Linked DNA regions of Homo sapiens: region 2 is linked to region 1. Evidence: promoter capture Hi-C in human tissues and cell types (Jung and others, 2019). All regions are on one chromosome and are shown on one strand. Each heading gives the region's core, a stretch centred on a gene start or on the middle of the fragment in contact. The rest is flanking DNA. Distances are from core to core; before and after follow the strand shown.

The links. Contacts are between HindIII fragments. The study calls those that stand out against the background at their distance.
Region 2: a contact is called between the fragment with the promoter of UBE2O here and the fragment with the promoter of FBF1 in region 1, in 2 of the 25 tissues and cell types used here (H1 embryonic stem cells and spleen).

Annotation. Positions count from the first base shown.
Region 1 is chr17:75,939,464-75,943,276 of GRCh38, reverse strand. FBF1 (Fas binding factor 1) reads left to right here and starts at 2,235. Exons shown (of 30, transcript NM_001319193.2): 1 at 2,235-2,429. It overlaps ACOX1 (acyl-CoA oxidase 1), which reads left to right. Exons shown (of 14, transcript NM_004035.7): 14 at 1-1,770. RefSeq lists an enhancer at 2,017-2,086 and a silencer at 2,197-2,466. The HindIII fragment of the contact is 5,258 bases long and covers 1-3,813 here.
Region 2 is chr17:76,451,242-76,454,521 of GRCh38, reverse strand. UBE2O (ubiquitin conjugating enzyme E2 O) reads left to right here and starts at 1,370. Exons shown (of 18, transcript NM_022066.4): 1 at 1,370-1,797. The coding sequence starts at 1,381. It also overlaps a transcript of AANAT not described here. RefSeq lists silencers at 1,196-1,364, 1,159-1,698, 1,819-2,018. The HindIII fragment of the contact is 12,276 bases long and covers 1-3,280 here.

The sequences.
Region 1 (3,813 bases), core at 986-3,485:
GGATTACAGGAGTGAGCTACTGCACTGGGCCAACATGTTAATTTTTTTTTTTTTTTTTTTGAGATGGAGTCTCCCAGGCGGGAATGCAATGGTGCGATCTCGACTTCACTGCAATCTTCACCTCCCGGGTTCGAGCGATTCTCCCACCTCAGCCTCCTGAGTAGCTGGGATTACAGGCACCTGCCATCACGCTCGGCTAATTTTTGTATTTTGAGCAGAGATGGAGTTTCACCATGTTGGCCAGGTGATCTGCACTCCCACTCCCCCCACACTTCCCAAAGTGCTGGGATTACAGGCATAAGCCACAAGCCACCTCACCCAGCCAACATGTTACATCTTAATTCTTGGATTTTCTTCACTGCAGGGCTTTGGGTGGAGAAATAAAACTCTTCAAATGCATGATCTTGGAGATCCCTGTGAATCAATAATTCTTTAGACAACTGCGGCTCAAAATCCCTCCTTTCCCTTTTCCGAGTTATTCCATCCATCTTATTAGAAAGGAAGTGAATTAGGTGTAGGTGGTCTGTAACACCTGCACATCTTTTTATACGTGTAGAGGGTATGCCTGGGATATATAGGTTGTCTTCAAGCAGTAGCTGCTACTACAGCTAGAGAGAGGAGGAGTGCCAGGAAACTGATGACCTGAGACCAAGAGTCTTGTTGATGTTCTGACTTAGATAAAGGTTTTGATCATTTTCATGAAATAATGCAGGGAAGTCATTTCTGCTGTTTCTTTACTACTCCATTCTTGGAGGATTAGAACAAGTCACACTGTAATTGACTAAAACGACTTTTTATTTTAAAATATTGATGGTGGGGTTTTGCTTTTTTTTTTTTTTTTTTTTTTGAGACGTTGTCTTGCTCTTTCACCCAGGGTAGAGTGCAGTGGCGAAATCTTGGCTCACTGCAACCTCTGCCTCCCGGGTTCAAGCAATTCTCTGCCTCAGCCTCCTGAGAAGCTGGGATTACAGCGCCTGCCACCATGCCTGTCTAGTTTTTTTGTATTTTTAGTAGAGACAGGGGTTTCACCAAGTTGGCCAGGCTGGTCTTGAACTCCTGACCTCGTGATCCACCCACCTCGGCCTCCCAAAGTGCTGGGATTACAGGCGTGAGCCACCGTGCCGGGCCAGTGTTTTTAACTGTCCACACTTACTAAATTTTCCAGTACTTCTTCCTATGGTTCATGATAGTAAACACAGAAACATATAAGGAACATTATTAGAGTTACCAGATGTTAGCTGTTGCATATGTGCACATTCCTAGATTCAAGGGTGTTTTTGCCTTAAATTTAAGTGGGTCATTGGTTGTCTTGGGAAGATCATGGAAAATTCGGGATTTTTTAGAATTCTGAACCAAAATATGTTTTGAGTGTTTCTTAGTAAATGTGTGATCTTCCACCTTCCACATTCAGACTGCGGACTACACTTCATAAATGCCTTTTTATTTCCAGTTATGGATTCAACTAAATGACTGCCTTGGGAGCACATAATTACTTTGCTACCTTTTTCCCCCTTTGCTGTTGTGGCTCGAGTTTGGTTCTCACCTGAGAAGATGCATTGAGCATATGTTGTTACCCAGCCCTGGCTTAATGGTGTCCTGTGGGGTAGGGGTGGGAGGACGAGGGGCACGGGGCCAGAGCATGTGAATGGATCATGGTTGGACAGCTGTGACCTGCCAGCACTGCGGGTAAGCAAAACTACAAACCGTTCTTTCCTCTGTGACATTGAATAAACCTTAATAAAATTCATAATTAGCACATACTAGAAAAAATGTGACTTAATCTTTTTGTGGGGCGACAGTATTGGGTTTCATTCTGGCTATACAGCTTTGATTGGATCATTAAACAGGTCAGTCACTTCCCTCAAGCTTTGGGGTGTGGAATAAACACCGGTGAATTTGTGGATTCACCCGTCAACCTCCCAATATCAACACATTTCTCACGCCTCCGCGTCGGCCACGTGTCAGCCCTCAGAAGTGGGCAGGAGGAACTTTTAAGCTTCCCGGCAGTTCCCAAGAGGGCCTTTGAGCCTGGCGCCCTCTTCCCGGAGAGGCGTTGGGGCAGCTCCTAGCAACGTGCCCGCCGCCGGCAGAAGCCCGGCCCCGCCAACTGCCGCGCGCGGCTCCCTGGGAGCTGTAGTTCTTCATGGCGTCCCCACCTCCTCTGTGAGGGCGGGTGAGTCGACCGCCGACTGCGACTCCCAGGATGCCTCGCGCCCGCCTTTCCGCGGGAGGCCAGACGGCTGAGGGTGCCGGCAGCGGCTGGAAGCGGGAGGCCAGTCCTGGCCGGGCTGGGCGACCCGAATGGAGCCAGGGCCGGCGCTGGTCCCAGCGGCCGCACCTCCGGGGGCACGGCGCGTAACAGGAGGCTTCCGGGGCTGAGAGCGTTACAGGCTGCGCTCCGGGGCCAGATAGGCCGGGCGCTCAGAAGGGTGACGCATTGAGGGGCGCGGAGTCTCGGGACGGAGGGGCGACTCCGGCTAGGGGTCTTGCTTAGGGGTGGTCTCGGGATCTGTAAAACGCCTGGCATGGAGTCGGCTGAATACATGTGGGGACGGGGTTACTCTGTAGCCCTTTGGCCTTGGCAAACCAAGCCTAGAAAATCCCCATAGTCTGAGAAGCCCGTACAGGATCGATAGGAGATGCCAGAAGTTCCTTGATGTGTTATGGGACACATTTGGACTTGTAGGTCGTGAAGTCGCCATTGCAGAGAAAAAGAAACAAGGCCGGGCACGGTGGCTCACGCCTGTAATCCCGACACTTTGGGAGGCCAAGGCGGGAGGATCACTTGAGGCCAGGCGTCTGGGACGACCCTGGGCAACATAGGGAGACCCCCGTCTCTACAAAAAAAATTTTAAAATTTGCCGCACATGGTGGCGTGTGCCTGTGGTCCCAGCTGCTAGGGAGGCTGACATTGGAGGATCGCCTGAGCCCAAGGAGGTCGAGGCTGCAGTAAGCTATGAGAGCTGTGATCGTGCCACTGCACTCCAGCCTGGGCAACAGAGCGAGACCCTGTCTGGAAAAAAAAAAAAGAAAGAAGGCCAGGCGTGGTGGCTCACACCTGTAATCCTAGCACTTTGGGAGGCCGAGACGGGCAGATCACGAGGTCAGGAGTTCGAGACCTCCTGGCCAACAGTGAAACCCCGTCTCTACTAAAAATACAAAAATTAACCGGGCATGGTGGCATGTGCCTGTATTCCCAGCTACTCGGGAGGCTGAGGCAGGAGATTCGCTTGAACCCGGGAGGCTGAGGTTGTGGTGAGCCAAGATCGCACCACTGCACTCCATCCTGGGCAACAGAGCAAGACTCCGTCTAAAAAAAGAAAAAAAAGAAAACACATGTATTCAGGGTGGGCTCTGTAGGTAAGCCCAGATAACCCTTGCATTCCAATAACAGGACAGGCCAATACTTGGGACATAAAGAGGACCCCTCTGACTCCTTTCTTCCAGGACATCCTGTAGGTGGGTTTTGGTAAAGTGGAGGAGGGGGAGGGAGACAGCTAATTCCGAGGAAAATGTTCTCAATGGGTCAGATTTACTGCCTATGTAAAGGGAAATATTTCCACTGTCAGTGAAAATCGTGTTGCTGGACGTGGTGGCTCACACCTGTAATCCCAGCACTTTGGAAGACCAACGCAGGAGGATTGCTTGAGCCCCAGAGTTCAATACCAACCTGAGTAACACAGTGAGACCCCGTCTCGAAAAAAAAAATTTTAAAAAGAAAAAGAATATCAAAGAGTAACCAGAGTTCATACCTGCTTTTGTGCTAAATGCTGCCTAGAAAGTAGTCATGGGTGTTGCCTGGGAAAGGGTTTC
Region 2 (3,280 bases), core at 121-2,620, 510 kb before region 1:
TTTTATATTTTATTTATTTTTATTTATTTATTTTTTTGAGACAGAGTCTTGCTCTGTTGCCCAGGGTGGAGTGCAGTGGCGCGATCTGGGCTCACTGCAACCTCAGCCTCCCAGGTTCAAGCGATTTGCCTGCCTCAGCCTCCTGAGTAGCTGGGACTACAGCCATGTGCCACCACGCCCAGCTATTTTTTTTTTTTTTCCGTATTTTTAGTAGAGATGGGGTTTCGCCATGTTGGCCAGGATGGTCTCAATCTCTTGACCTCGTGATCCGCCCACCTCAGCCTCCCAAAGTACTGGGATGACAGGTGTGAGCTGCCGCGCCCGGCCTACTTTTTATATTTTAAAATGACAATATGGAGCAGACCATAACAGTTCTGCCAGTCTGGAATTTAGTCTAGGCAGGGAGTTTGGAAATAGTACAACAATGGTTAAGCTTATCGAAGGAGCTAAATGCCAGGCACTGTTCTACTTCACTTAATCCTCCAATTGCCCAATGAGATGAGTATTGCTATTATCATCCCTATTTCACAGATGAGCAAATTAAGATGAAAATAAGTTAATCAGTGTGCCTATTTTTATAGATTAGTAAGTGGCAGTGCCAAAAATTGGAATCCGTGGTCCCCACTCTTAGCTACCTTACTATACTACCTCTTGCCATTCATTCTTGGCTTCAGGGAGCTTTGAATTTATCTGCATGGATTTGTAGCCAAACCACTGGGACCACTGATCCTTTTGTTACCTTTCTCTGGGCCTCCTTCACCAGCTTCTGGGTCAACTTCTGAGGGGTCATGACGTTCGAACTGCTTGGAATTCCTGAATACAGTGCATTATACATATGCTCTACACGTATCTATTATAGCCTTACAAGTTGGAGTTGTTTGTTATCTATTTAATGTGTATTTGTTTTGTCTCCCCAACTAGACTGGAAACACCTAGAGGACAGGGACAGTATCTTTCTCTTTCTGCAATGCTCCCAGTGCCTGGGGGCTAGGCTAGGACGCCAAGGGAGCTCATTAAAAGTTGTTGACAGTCTCTCCACCATCCTGTGCCCCACCCCGACCACTCCCCTCTTCCTCGGTGGCCACTCCACTTCCTCCTCCCGGGTCCCCGCCCCTTCTCGCTCCCTTTAGTTGAATCCTCACTGGTCTCGCCCCTTCTTAGTGGATTCCATCCTGCCCCCGCCCCCCGCGGCATCTTCAGCGTCCCCTAGCGACGAGGCGGTGGCTCCTAGCAACTGCATCCCGGCTCCCTGACGACGGCGCCACGCAGGGACACGTCAGCGCGCTATGGCCCCGCCCCCGGCGCCCGCTGGTCCCGCCTCCCCGCGCCTCGTTCGCCGCCGCTGTCGCCGCCGCCGCCCGAGACTCGCGCAGAGCAGTTATGGCGGATCCCGCAGCCCCCACGCCCGCAGCTCCCGCTCCAGCCCAGGCCCCGGCTCCAGCCCCGGAGGCAGTCCCGGCCCCAGCCGCAGCCCCCGTCCCGGCGCCGGCGCCCGCCTCGGACTCGGCCTCCGGGCCGTCCTCGGACTCCGGCCCAGAAGCCGGCTCGCAGCGCCTGCTGTTTTCTCACGACCTGGTGTCGGGCCGTTACCGTGGCTCCGTGCACTTCGGGCTGGTGCGCCTCATCCACGGCGAGGACTCGGACTCGGAGGGCGAGGAGGAGGGCCGCGGGAGCTCGGGGTGCTCCGAGGCCGGGGGCGCGGGCCACGAGGAGGGCCGGGCCAGCCCCCTGCGCCGCGGCTACGTGCGCGTCCAGTGGTACCCGGAGGGCGTCAAGCAGCATGTGAAGGAGACCAAGGTGCGGCGGGCGGGGGCTGGGCGGCGCGGGCGGCAGGGGGTCGGCGGCCGGGCCGAGGCCAGGGAAGGACGGCGTGCAGGGCCCTGCCCGGAGCGGTGCCACTGCAGTGGCCGACGCGGGAGGACAGCCCCAGTGGAGGGTACACTCCATGCAAAGTCATTGCAGCAGCTCTGGGCGCACACGCCAGCCAGGCACTGCTGGCCCGGGACCGGGCGGGCCCTGGGCTTCCCGACTTGAGGGGACTTCTAAGACATGTTATGCTGTGGTGTCGGCCTCGAGATTTAGAGACGTGGACCGACTCCCGTGGGGACTCAGGTTCTGGGGCGCGTTCGGCGTTACACCAGTGCGGCGTTTTGCTGACCCCCAAGGAGCTCGGTACTGCATTGTGCATCCAGAAATGAAGGCCGTGCCGGGTCCGTGCAGGGAGGGGTTGTGGGCATTCCAAAACAAAGATAGAGGTGAAAATCCCAGCCGAACCCAAGAAGTTCACTAGCTTACAGGCTGCATTATGGTGAAGCCACCCAGCCTCTTTTTGTTTTACCCTGCTGCCTCCTTTTAATTGCTGCAGGGAACTTTGTGAGTAAAATCATTAGCAATCAGAGCCCCGGTATGAATAGTACTTGGGGGGGAGGATTCTGACAGCTGCGACCGGGATTGATGACTCCTAAGTGCATATGGACTCCTTGAAAAAAATAATCCAGAACCCTGGGTAGAGGGGAGTCACCAATTTGGAAACCCGAAGGTTTTTTCTTGACCTGAAGCTGTTAAGCAGACATCTGACTCCCGTATGGTTTTTGGGGTGATGCTAGTGAGTATAGCAGTTTTACAAAACAAAGAGGCTTGTCATCATAAACCCGAAACCTTGAACCCGGGTTGGTTTGGTGGCTTGTTTTCCAGAATGTGAATTCCTATCAGTAATTGACACACACACACACACACACACACCCCCCTGTATCTCACACCCCTTCTTTCTCTCCTACTTCCCCTCCCCTTCAAGAAAACATTTCTAAGCAGGAATCAGGCCTACGCTGTTTTAGGTCCTTGGGAGGTTGAGAGGTCTGATTTCAGGGGAGGGCACTTTGGAAGTTGATCTGGGTTTCTCACACAGTGGGAGACAAAGACTACAGAGGAACGGGGTTTCATGTCAAACTACAAAGCGGGGTCTGTGACAACGGCTTGAGAAGGAAAAAGGCCCCACTCCAGAGAAGAGCACATGATCCATTTCCTAGAGGCAGAAGTGACTGCTGATACCAGCGGGGTCTTTTTGTTGGGGATGCACATACATCCACAGACACAAATCCACACACAGGACCCTGCTTCCCCTCAGAGAAATGTGAATCAGGCAACAGCTCTGAGACTTGGAAGGAAAATTATCAGTCCATTTACAAGAGTATTTGGAAAATATTACTTTTGTGCAACAGAATGCTTGTTAAAAATTACCCAGTATTGTGTCAGTAAAAGAGGGTTATTGCTGTATACTGTG